Regions from separate parts of the Homo sapiens genome. Here all the other regions are linked to region 3. Evidence: promoter capture Hi-C in human tissues and cell types (Jung and others, 2019). All regions are on one chromosome and are shown on one strand. Each heading gives the region's core, a stretch centred on a gene start or on the middle of the fragment in contact. The rest is flanking DNA. Distances are from core to core; before and after follow the strand shown. Region 1 overlaps PACSIN2 (protein kinase C and casein kinase substrate in neurons 2). Region 2 overlaps PACSIN2 (protein kinase C and casein kinase substrate in neurons 2). Region 3 holds the start of A4GALT (alpha 1,4-galactosyltransferase (P1PK blood group)).

The links. The method cuts DNA at HindIII sites, captures the fragments that hold promoters and counts their contacts. A contact is called where the count stands out against the background at its distance.
Region 1: a fragment that was not itself captured here is called in contact with the fragment with the promoter of A4GALT in region 3 in 3 of the 25 tissues and cell types used here (heart left ventricle, lymphoblastoid cells and mesenchymal stem cells).
Region 2: a fragment that was not itself captured here is called in contact with the fragment with the promoter of A4GALT in region 3 in 1 of the 25 tissues and cell types used here (liver).

Annotation. Positions count from the first base shown.
Region 1 is chr22:42,883,423-42,886,343 of GRCh38, reverse strand. It overlaps PACSIN2 (protein kinase C and casein kinase substrate in neurons 2), which reads left to right. Exons shown (of 11, transcript NM_001184970.3): 6 at 1,783-1,958. Among named protein-coding and RNA genes, the nearest start is that of ARFGAP3, 28 kb to the right of the region's middle. The HindIII fragment of the contact is 5,085 bases long and covers 1-2,921 here.
Region 2 is chr22:42,943,576-42,946,744 of GRCh38, reverse strand. All of the region lies in intron 1 of PACSIN2 (protein kinase C and casein kinase substrate in neurons 2), which reads left to right. Among named protein-coding and RNA genes, the nearest start is that of PACSIN2, 70 kb to the left of the region's middle. RefSeq lists an enhancer at 1-78 and a silencer at 1,569-1,648. The HindIII fragment of the contact is 4,336 bases long and covers 1-3,169 here.
Region 3 is chr22:42,719,453-42,722,451 of GRCh38, reverse strand. A4GALT (alpha 1,4-galactosyltransferase (P1PK blood group)) reads left to right here and starts at 1,582. Exons shown (of 3, transcript NM_017436.7): 1 at 1,582-1,655. RefSeq lists silencers at 1,483-1,672, 1,703-1,932, 2,013-2,142. The HindIII fragment of the contact is 38,593 bases long and covers 1-2,999 here.

The DNA of each region.
Region 1 (2,921 bases), core at 376-2,875, 160 kb before region 3:
ATCCATCATAAAAGAACTTTTTGCATTTAGTGCTAAAATATTACAATCCACCTAAGGGTGAAGGCCGCCTCTTGTTTTACTCCATGGGTGTTCGCTGAGAACTTTCTATGCCCTGCAAGGGGATTTCCAGAACAGTGATGACCCTGCTGAGTACCTGGCCTGTGCTGGGGGCAGGACTTGGGGCTAGCAGGGTCGGCACAGGCTGAGGGCAGGGGCAGCCCAGAGGTGGAGCATCTTGTTGCCACTGAGTACCCTGAGAGCTCCCGGGAGGCTATTGTGTCTTGAAGGCTCCTGAGATGGGGCTGCTCTGTGTCACTTCAGCAGTATCCTCCAGATGCTGGGCGCTGAACCCACAGCTATGTGTCTTGGGCTTCTGAGCTAGGCTCCCATGCAGGGCTGCCAGGTAGTGGGCACGGGCAGTGTGGATGGCTGTGGGGAATAGGGGAATAGCCACAGCGCTGTGGAGCTCTTTCTCTGCTGGGCATGCCCCAGCCCTGGCAGGGGTGGCCTTTTCCTGGCACAGAGGACCCAAGCCCAGCCATCTTAGGAGGCTGAGAAGCAGAGCAAGGACCCGGATACCAGGAGAGGAGAAAGGGGCAGGAGTCAGGGCCCTAGAGGGCGGGGTGGAACCTGGTCTCACGAGGCTGGGGAAGGCTTCAAGAAGAGGAGTTGCTTTGGAGCCTGAAGCAGAGTCTCCCAGGGCTCTGAGCCACGTGAGTCAGAGGAGAGCATCTGGGAGGGGAGCCGCATGGGCAGGGTAGACTCAGTCCCAGCTGGGGGCAGAGAGGGTGCCCGATAGGCCTGCAGTGTCTCGGGAAGCGCTCCATCCTTCCTCAGAAGGCCCTGCACATGTTGTTAGGGACAGCAAAGCTTAGACCTGAGTGGAGCCCGTGACTACCCCCATAGTAGAAAGAATTGCAATAAATAGGTGGCCCCAGCCCTGCTATCTCTCACCCACCCCAGGGGGACAACACGACCATGATCCCACCAACTAACAAAACCACCTGGCCACCAAACTGGTGGCCCTGCATGCTGAGATGAGGGGGTGCGGGGAAGTGTGTACCAGTGTGAGGTCATTGACCTCGAGGCACATCCCCACCAGATGAATGTGCCCACTTTAGCCATGTCTTAGGAATTTCACACGTTTTCTAGCTGCCCCTGGATATTCTTGAGATAGGCCACACCTGCTTTTTAACATTTCCTGCCTTGTAAAACCCCTTCTTGGGACAATCTGGGAGGGAGCAGCTGTGTGAGGGGGATGGAGTGGGCTGAAAGACAAGAGAAGGAGGACTTTTTTTGAATGCCTTCTTCCTGCACCCCATCATGTACATATCAGAACACTGTGAAGGAGAGATGTCCTCATCTGATAAAGGACAGTGAGGCTCCAAGAGAGCTGCAGGATTCAGCCCCAGCCCCACCTTTGCTGTGGGCCAGATCTGAGGCTTGAGGGTAGCCAGGCACAGCCCTTCCCCACAGGGAGAAGAGGACATGGGCGTGTGGCACGCTCAAGACCATACACACTGAGTTCTGGGGAGACTGCCCTTTGCCGGCATCTACCTGTCTGGGCCTTGCTCCAGCTGAGAGACAGGGCAGATGGCAGGAGTGTGATTCACCTTGCAGGAGTGGAGGAACTGGGACTTGAACTTGAAGTCTGTCAGAATCCAGAGCTCCTGTTTTTTCTTTGCATTTGGAATCTGGGAAGGCCTGAGACACTCCAGGGGCAGGGTGAGCCAAGGGCTAAATGGAAATGAACCTCTGTCTTGTGCCTGGATTTTCCTTTAGACCAAAGAGAAGTATGAGAAGTCCCTGAAGGAACTCGACCAGGGCACACCCCAGTACATGGAGAACATGGAGCAGGTGTTTGAGCAGTGCCAGCAGTTCGAGGAGAAACGCCTTCGCTTCTTCCGGGAGGTTCTGCTGGAGGTTCAGAAGCACCTAGACCTGTCCAATGTGGCTGGGTAAGTTTCCTTTGAGCTAAAACACACACGTCATTGAAGTCAACGGAAAGTGCTTTTGAAGCAAACTCAGATGCTGCTCCCAGGTTTGGGATGGCGCGTTCATCAGGAGGTCTCCTCACCGCCCTCAGGGCCTCCTGCTTCTTTGTAATCTGGATGGCAGGGAGGGCCCCTCTGCTGAGTGTTTCTGCAGCTGCAGGCATGGCCGGCTGGACCTCTGGAAGGCCTGGTTGACCCGGCCAATTGCTGGCCCAAGCAGATAAGGCCGGGCCCACTCTGCCAACTCCATGTACAGGTCTGGGTGGGAATGGAGATTGCCCATTCTGGGGCCACAGCTAGGACCAAGGCAGCTGGCATATCTTTTCTTTTCTTTTTTTTTTTTTGAGACGGAGTCTTGCTTTGTCCCCAGGCTGGAGTGCAGTGGCGTGATCTCAGTTCACTGCAACCTCCTCCACCTTCTGGTTTCAAGCAGTTCTCCTGCCTCAGCCTCCCGAGTAGCTGGGATTACAGGCATGCGCCACCACACCCAGCTAATTTCTGTATTTTTAGTAGAGATGGGGTTTCACCATGTTGTCCAGGATGGTCTCGATCTCTTGACCTTGTGATCCGCCCACCTCGGCCTTCCAAAGTGCTGGGATTACAGGCGTGAGCCACCGCACCTGGCCGCAGCTGGCATATGTAAGATCCACTGGAGGTGAATCTGGCATTTCTGGGCTGGTCGTGCCTGGGACAGTCTTTCTTTGAGGCCCTTTGTGATCAGGTGACTGCTTAGTGGCTCTCAGCCCCCAGGACAGCACATACCCTCTGAGACTTGGTTCTGAATTGTGATATGGAAGCTGTGCTGTTTCTTCTGTGCTTTCCTCATCTTTGGTTCTGTGATGCCTTCACCAGGGCAGAGGTCCCAGCTAAGTCAAGGACGTGGATTACTGTCATCCATCTAGCAGAACCGTGTAGGGATGCGTCACG
Region 2 (3,169 bases), core at 321-2,820, 220 kb before region 3:
GCTCTGAAGTCCTGATCCCCAGCTGGACGAGAGAGGATCATGTGTGTGCGCATGCCTGTGTGAAGGGATCCTAAGATTATGTTGGAATAACACTGCATCAGTCCTGGGCAGGCAGCTTTGTGTGTTGTGTAACTGGGGCTTCTTGCTGTGGGGACATGGTGGCAAATCAGTGAGCACTTGTTCTTTTTGTTTTTTGAGACAGAGTTTTGCTCTTTCCCCCAGGCTGGAGTGCAGTGGTGCGATCTCACTGCAACCTCCATCACCTGGGTTCAAGTGATTCTTGTGCCTCAGCCTCCCAAGTAGTGGGTGAGCCCGTGGTACATTGCTGCTCTCGCCAGGCTCAGAGGCCAATGTGTGCCTCCTTCCTGGATGCAGTGGCAGTCAGTGAGTGCTTCCACTCCTGCCCCCAGGGACAAATCCTTTGGCTTTATTAGCTTTGTCCTTACTTCCCCCTTAGACTGTGGCAGGTTTGGGGTACCCATACTTCTGGAGACCCTACCCTGGATTATATTAGGTATGTTATGCTCACATGCAGTTTAAACACTTCTTTATGTTATAAAAGTAATTGGAAGGATTCTTATTATTTTGCTTTTGAAACTATTTGGCTATGAGAAGTTGATTTCTCCTCCACCTCCTCTAATTCATTTGTGCATTTGTTCAGAGGGAACAGTGTGTGTGAAGGGGTGGAGCTGATAGGAGTGTGGTGCTTGTGTTGGTAGACACAGGTGATTAACGGTGGCCAGAGCGTGTATAGTGTGGCCAGGAGTGTGGTGTGAGTGGTGAGGCTGGAGGAGCAGTAGTTACAGCCTGGAGGCCCTGCTGGCTTCGGGAGGAAGTAGGGGGAGGAGTTTGAGTAGAGGCAAAACCTGATCTTTCCAGAAGACATTCCAACCACCATGGTAGAGTCACAGTAATGTCATGGAGAATGAAGGGAGTCGGGGACTAAACAAGTGGCTGCAGGTTAGTTAGGACGTTGTTAAGGATTAGGCAGGAGGCAATGGTGGCCTTAGCGAAGGTAGCTATCATCATGGGGACAGAGCCAAGTGGGAGGATTCAAGAGATATTGAAGAGCTGATGTAGTCCGGTCTTGGAAGCTGATTGAATGTGGTAGTGGTGAGGGGGGTTGGGTGTGGGAAGAAGAGGAGTTTCTGGCTTGAGAAGCTGGGTGAATGAATGGTGGGACCATTTCTGACGTAGAAAACCCAGGAACAGGAGTGGGCTCATAGGGAAGGGGATAGTTTGCAAGGACTGTGTGATGGCCAAGTGGAGGCATCCAGTAGGCAGAGATGCGGGTCTGGGCCAGACAGCAGATCAGGGGGCTTGAGGTTAAAGGTGGTTTGGTGTGTGGGCACAGAAGACGTAAGAGAGAGGGCCTGGGACAGAACCTGGGGAGCGCCAGCAGCCAGGAAACAGGCAGAGGAGGTTGAGAGAAGGCACACTGCAGCCACTACAGAAATGAGCTGGTGAGTGTCAGCTCCCTCCCCAAAGACTCCTCTTGCCCTCGTCCCCCACTGATTTTGCTTCTGTCAGCTTGGTAATTGCCGGTGCGTACATCTAGTCACTGTGCAGACTCATTTGAGCATCTACCTCATGCTAAGCACTGGGGATACGGAGATGACACAGCCCTTGCCTCTTTTTTTTTTTTTTTGAGACGAGTCTTGCCCTGTCGTCCAGGCTAGAGTACAGTGGTATGATCTTGGCTCACCGCAACCTCTGCCTCCCAGGTTCAAGTGATTCTCCTGCCTCAGCCTCCTGAGTAGCTGAAACTACAGGGGCGTACCACCACACCTGGCTAATTTTTGTATTTTTAGTAGACATAGGGTTTCACTGTGTTGGCCCGGCTGGTCTTGAACTCCTGACCTCAGGTGATCCACCCATCTTGGCCTCCCAAAGTGCTGAGATTATAGGCGTGAGCCACCGCGCCCAGCTACAGTCCTCACCTTATAAGTTGATGTGTAGTGGATGCGCTGTGCCACTCTGCCTTTTTTGCTTATACCCAATTTCGGATGGAAAATAGCTCACCTGCTAGTTCTCTGTAACGGATGTGTTGTGTCCTTTCTGTCAACTCGTCATTGTTTTCTTAGCTTTGAGCAGCTGACTCGTTTCCAATTTTTGCTGTTATAAATATTGCAGTGATGAACATTTTGTCCAAGCTATTTTTTCTTTGAGTTTATTTGCTTGGGGCATGTTCCCCAGAGTGGGACTTAAGGGTCAGAGGTTGGTAACTGTTATCTGCCTTGTTCTGTATTTTCAGATTTTTCCATGAAGCCTATTAGCAATGTTAGAGTACATTTCTGTTTTCCTGTAGCCCCACCAAAACTGGCATTGTCATATTAATTTTCCTTATTTTACAAGTTATTTCCATATTTTAAAGGAAGTTGTGCTTTTTTTTCCTGCATGGGAATTTGTTGTATTATATTTAGCTAGGTTACATTGCAGTAACAAGCAAACCCCAAGTCTCAGAGACTTAGCCTAACACAAATGTCTTTCTCGCTTGATCTGTGTGTCCCTTGTAGGATGGCTGGGGGTGCGGTTCCACAGAGTCCCTCAGGCCAGGCTGATTAAGGAGACAGCACTCTCTGAGAGCTGCCACTCGAGGCCTGCTCAGTGGACAACACAGTAGACAGGAGAGGCTGGGGGCTTTGTGTGGACTTTTCACTACTGATGTGGCCAGGACTACCAACACAGTCTGGCTTAGCAGGTAGAACTTAGTGAGCATTCCTGTCTCTGCCCAGCCATCTCCTCTTCTGTTTGTTCCTCTCCAGCAACTTCTTTGTCCAGTGGAATTGGATCCTCTGTCTTCATATCAGCTCTTAATGTATTTTAGGTAATAAGATTTTTATCAATTGTGTCTTTTTCTTTCTTTGCTTTCTATATTGTATTGTGCAAAAGTTTAACGTAAGTTTTGGACACATTCATGTTTTCCTCTGATACCTTATTATCACAAATTTCTTTTCTCAAAGCCAGAGAATAAGCTGCTTTTCTTTGAGTTGCTTAAAATGGATTTTATTTGGCTCCTTATGACACTTGAAATTCATCAAAATATATAATGTCAGGTGGTTTTAATCTAAGTTAATTAGGTCCTTGGTGATGCCTGTTCTGCAACATTAAAACAAAACAAAAGAAAGAAAAAACACCCAACCCCAAGCAACACCTCTTCATGACAGAA
Region 3 (2,999 bases), core at 333-2,832:
GTTCAAGACCAGCCTGGCCAACATGGTGAAACCCTGTCTCTACTAAAAATACAAAAATTAGCCATGGTTGTGCATGCCTGTAGTCCCAGCTACTCAGGAGGCTGAGGCAGGAGAATCACTTGAAACCAGGAGACAGAGGTTTCAGTGAGCCGAGATGGTGTCACTGCACTCCAGCCTAGGTAACAGAGTGAGTCTCTTCTCAAAAAAAAAAAAAAAAAAAAAAAAAAATGAGTATTACCAGTGGAGAAAGGGTCCGCATTCATTCTTTTTTTTTTTTTTTTTTTTTTTTTTTTTGAGACAGAGTCTGGCTCTTGTCACCCAGGCTGGAGTGCAGTGGCATGATCTAGGCTCACTGCAACCTCCACCTCCTGGGTTCAAGTGAGCATGTCCAGCTAATTTTTGTATTTTGTAGAGATGGAGTTTCACCATGTTGGCCAGGCTGGTCTTGAACTTCTGATCTCAGGTGACCTGCTTGCTTTGGCCTCCCAAAGTGCTGGGATTACAGGCGTGAGTGCTTGCCTGGCCTCTTGTTTCCGTTTTAAGATGGGAGAAGTAACAGCCTGTGATGGGAATGACCCAGGGAGAATGGAGAGAGGGCAGGGTTTCGGGATCAGTGTTGGCGTGAAGGGTCGGGATCTTCTGGAGGGGGTGGTCGTGGCCAGGAGCTGGACGGGTTCAGCCCGGTCCCAAGAGGGAAGGGACTGGGTGCTACCTCAGCGGGTGGGTGGGGGAGCTGGTGGGAATTTTCTACTGATTCCTTCATTCGAAGTGTATTTATTGGGCACCCATTGAGTGCCAGGCTCTTTCTCAGGGCTAGGATAGAGGTTCCATTTTCTCAGTGGCTTGGGCACTGGGTCATCAGCTGAGTGAGAGGATGGGCGTCAGCACTCAAGAAGTCACCCAATGGTTTCATTTTTTGCAGTCTTTGTTGTCCCAGAGGAGTAAGAACTAAAAGCACCAGGACTGTGACATGCTGGAAACATGGCATGTTCCAAAGAGAATAAAATACAGTTTTATGATACACGAATTGTGTGTGATACATTCCAATTTCTCACATTGAACAAATTACCAATAGCAATATGTGTGAAGATGGGGCGAGGTGAGAGTGAGGAGGAGGAGTAGAGAAAGGACGGGGCGGCGTTAAGGATACAGCAAATAACTGGAATTCCGCAAACACTGGGGTGATGCAGGCAATGCCCTTAGCACGGTCCCGGCAGGAGGCGGTGGGATCAGGCCGACCCGGGTCCCAGGGGTGACAGCGTCCCTTCTCCACTGCAGAATATCGAGGTACTCAACCCTCTGAACCTCAGTTTTCTCATCAGTTCAATGGGGAAAACGGGATGGTAACCCGTAATACTGGCGGCGCGGAGGCCGGGGAGCGCTCCCTACCTGTTGGCCGGCGGACTGGGGACTGTCCGCACCCGCCCCGGGGAGCAGCGAGGGCGCGCGGGCGGGGTCGCGGGGACCCCGCAAGGGCTCTGGGGACCGGGACCCGCAGGGTAGGTCGGGACGGGCGGGGCGGGGCGGCCTGACCCCGCCCCGGGCCGGAGGGGCGGTGCTGCCTCCCGCCGGGCCCCAGGCACTGCCCTCCGGCCGCCGCGCCGCCCGCCCGCCGGGGCCCCGCTGTCCGCCGCCCGCCGCCGCTGGAGCTAGAGGTACGAGGGGCCGCGCCGATGTTGCGGGGGACGGGGGCTCCAGGGGGATCCTGCGGCTCGCAGTGGGGAGGAGGCGCCTCGGGAAGGCAGGGGCAGGGGCGGAGGGGCTGGGCCGCCGCCCTAGCCCGGGCCACCTGTTCTGGAGGCGACATTTGTGCGCGCACGAACCCCGCGCGGCGGTCCCGGCCACCGCCTCCACCCCAACTGCGCCCCGAAGTGGAGCGCGGCGGCGGGACCCGGAGCCCCGGCCCTCGCGGGCAGGACGCGCCTGGCTCCGGAGCCCTCGAGGGCAGCCCCACCCGGTTGGGTCCCGGGGCTGGAGAGAGGGCGTCGGGGAGAAGCCGGGTTCGAGGCAGGCTCTGCCCGGCCACCGTGGGTGAGTCGCGCTCCTCCGTCCGGGGGAAGCCTGGGCGTCGGGCGGTGCTCGCCCCGGAGCGGATGCGACCGGGGACGGGGATGGAGAGCGGCCGGCAGGAGGGGGCTCTGCCGGGCTGGCAGCGTCGGCGCCGGCCTTAGGGAGGGTGAGGATTTGGACCTGCCCAGAAGCGGGAAGGGCCCTCCCCGTGCGGGAAACGGCCTGGGTACGAGCTGGGCACGGGGCGAGCCGGTTGGAGTCGCCCGGCCTCCGCGCTCGCCTCGGATCCGCAGGCGCCCCTCCCTCCTCTCCAGCTGGGGAAGGTTGAGGACTGAGCGGGAGCGGAACTGGGCTTGGGAGAGGATCTGCCGGGGCACCTGGTCCCAGCGCCCATCCCGTTTCACTGCCAGGGCGAGTCCCCTTCCCTCAGTTTCATCACCTGTCATCCGGAGGGACAAGTTCCCACCTGGATAGTCTCGGCTGAGCCTCTGGCCCTGAGTGGGTTAAAGCGCCATTTCCCCTGCACCCACCTTTCCCTCACGACACCCTCTCTGCGGCTTCCTCCCCTCCGCCAACGTCGAGTGATTGTTCCGCGAAGGCCCCTTGGGGTCACGTACCCTGCACTCAGCAAATAACCCCGAGCACCTGGTGGGTCTCAGGCCAGGTCTGGCCTTCCCGTTCCCGCCACCAGCTGCCCAAAGACTTCCCCTTTGTCACCTCCTCCCAAAGAATGAGGGAGCCACCCTGCCCAGGGTCCCATAGCAGAGTGCGGATGGAGCCAGGCCTCCCTCAAGATTTCCCACAGCCCTCTTCCAGCCTCAAACCTTCTCCAGGACCCGAAACCCTGCTACACTGTGTTTCCATAGCTGCAACCCCCCAAAAGAGGGTCCCCAAATCAAAGGAATACAAAGGAAAACAAAATAGAAAGGAAAAGAAAGGAAGAGGAGAGATGGAATCCTCTCTGTCATTAGTTTTCTGTTTGTTTGTTT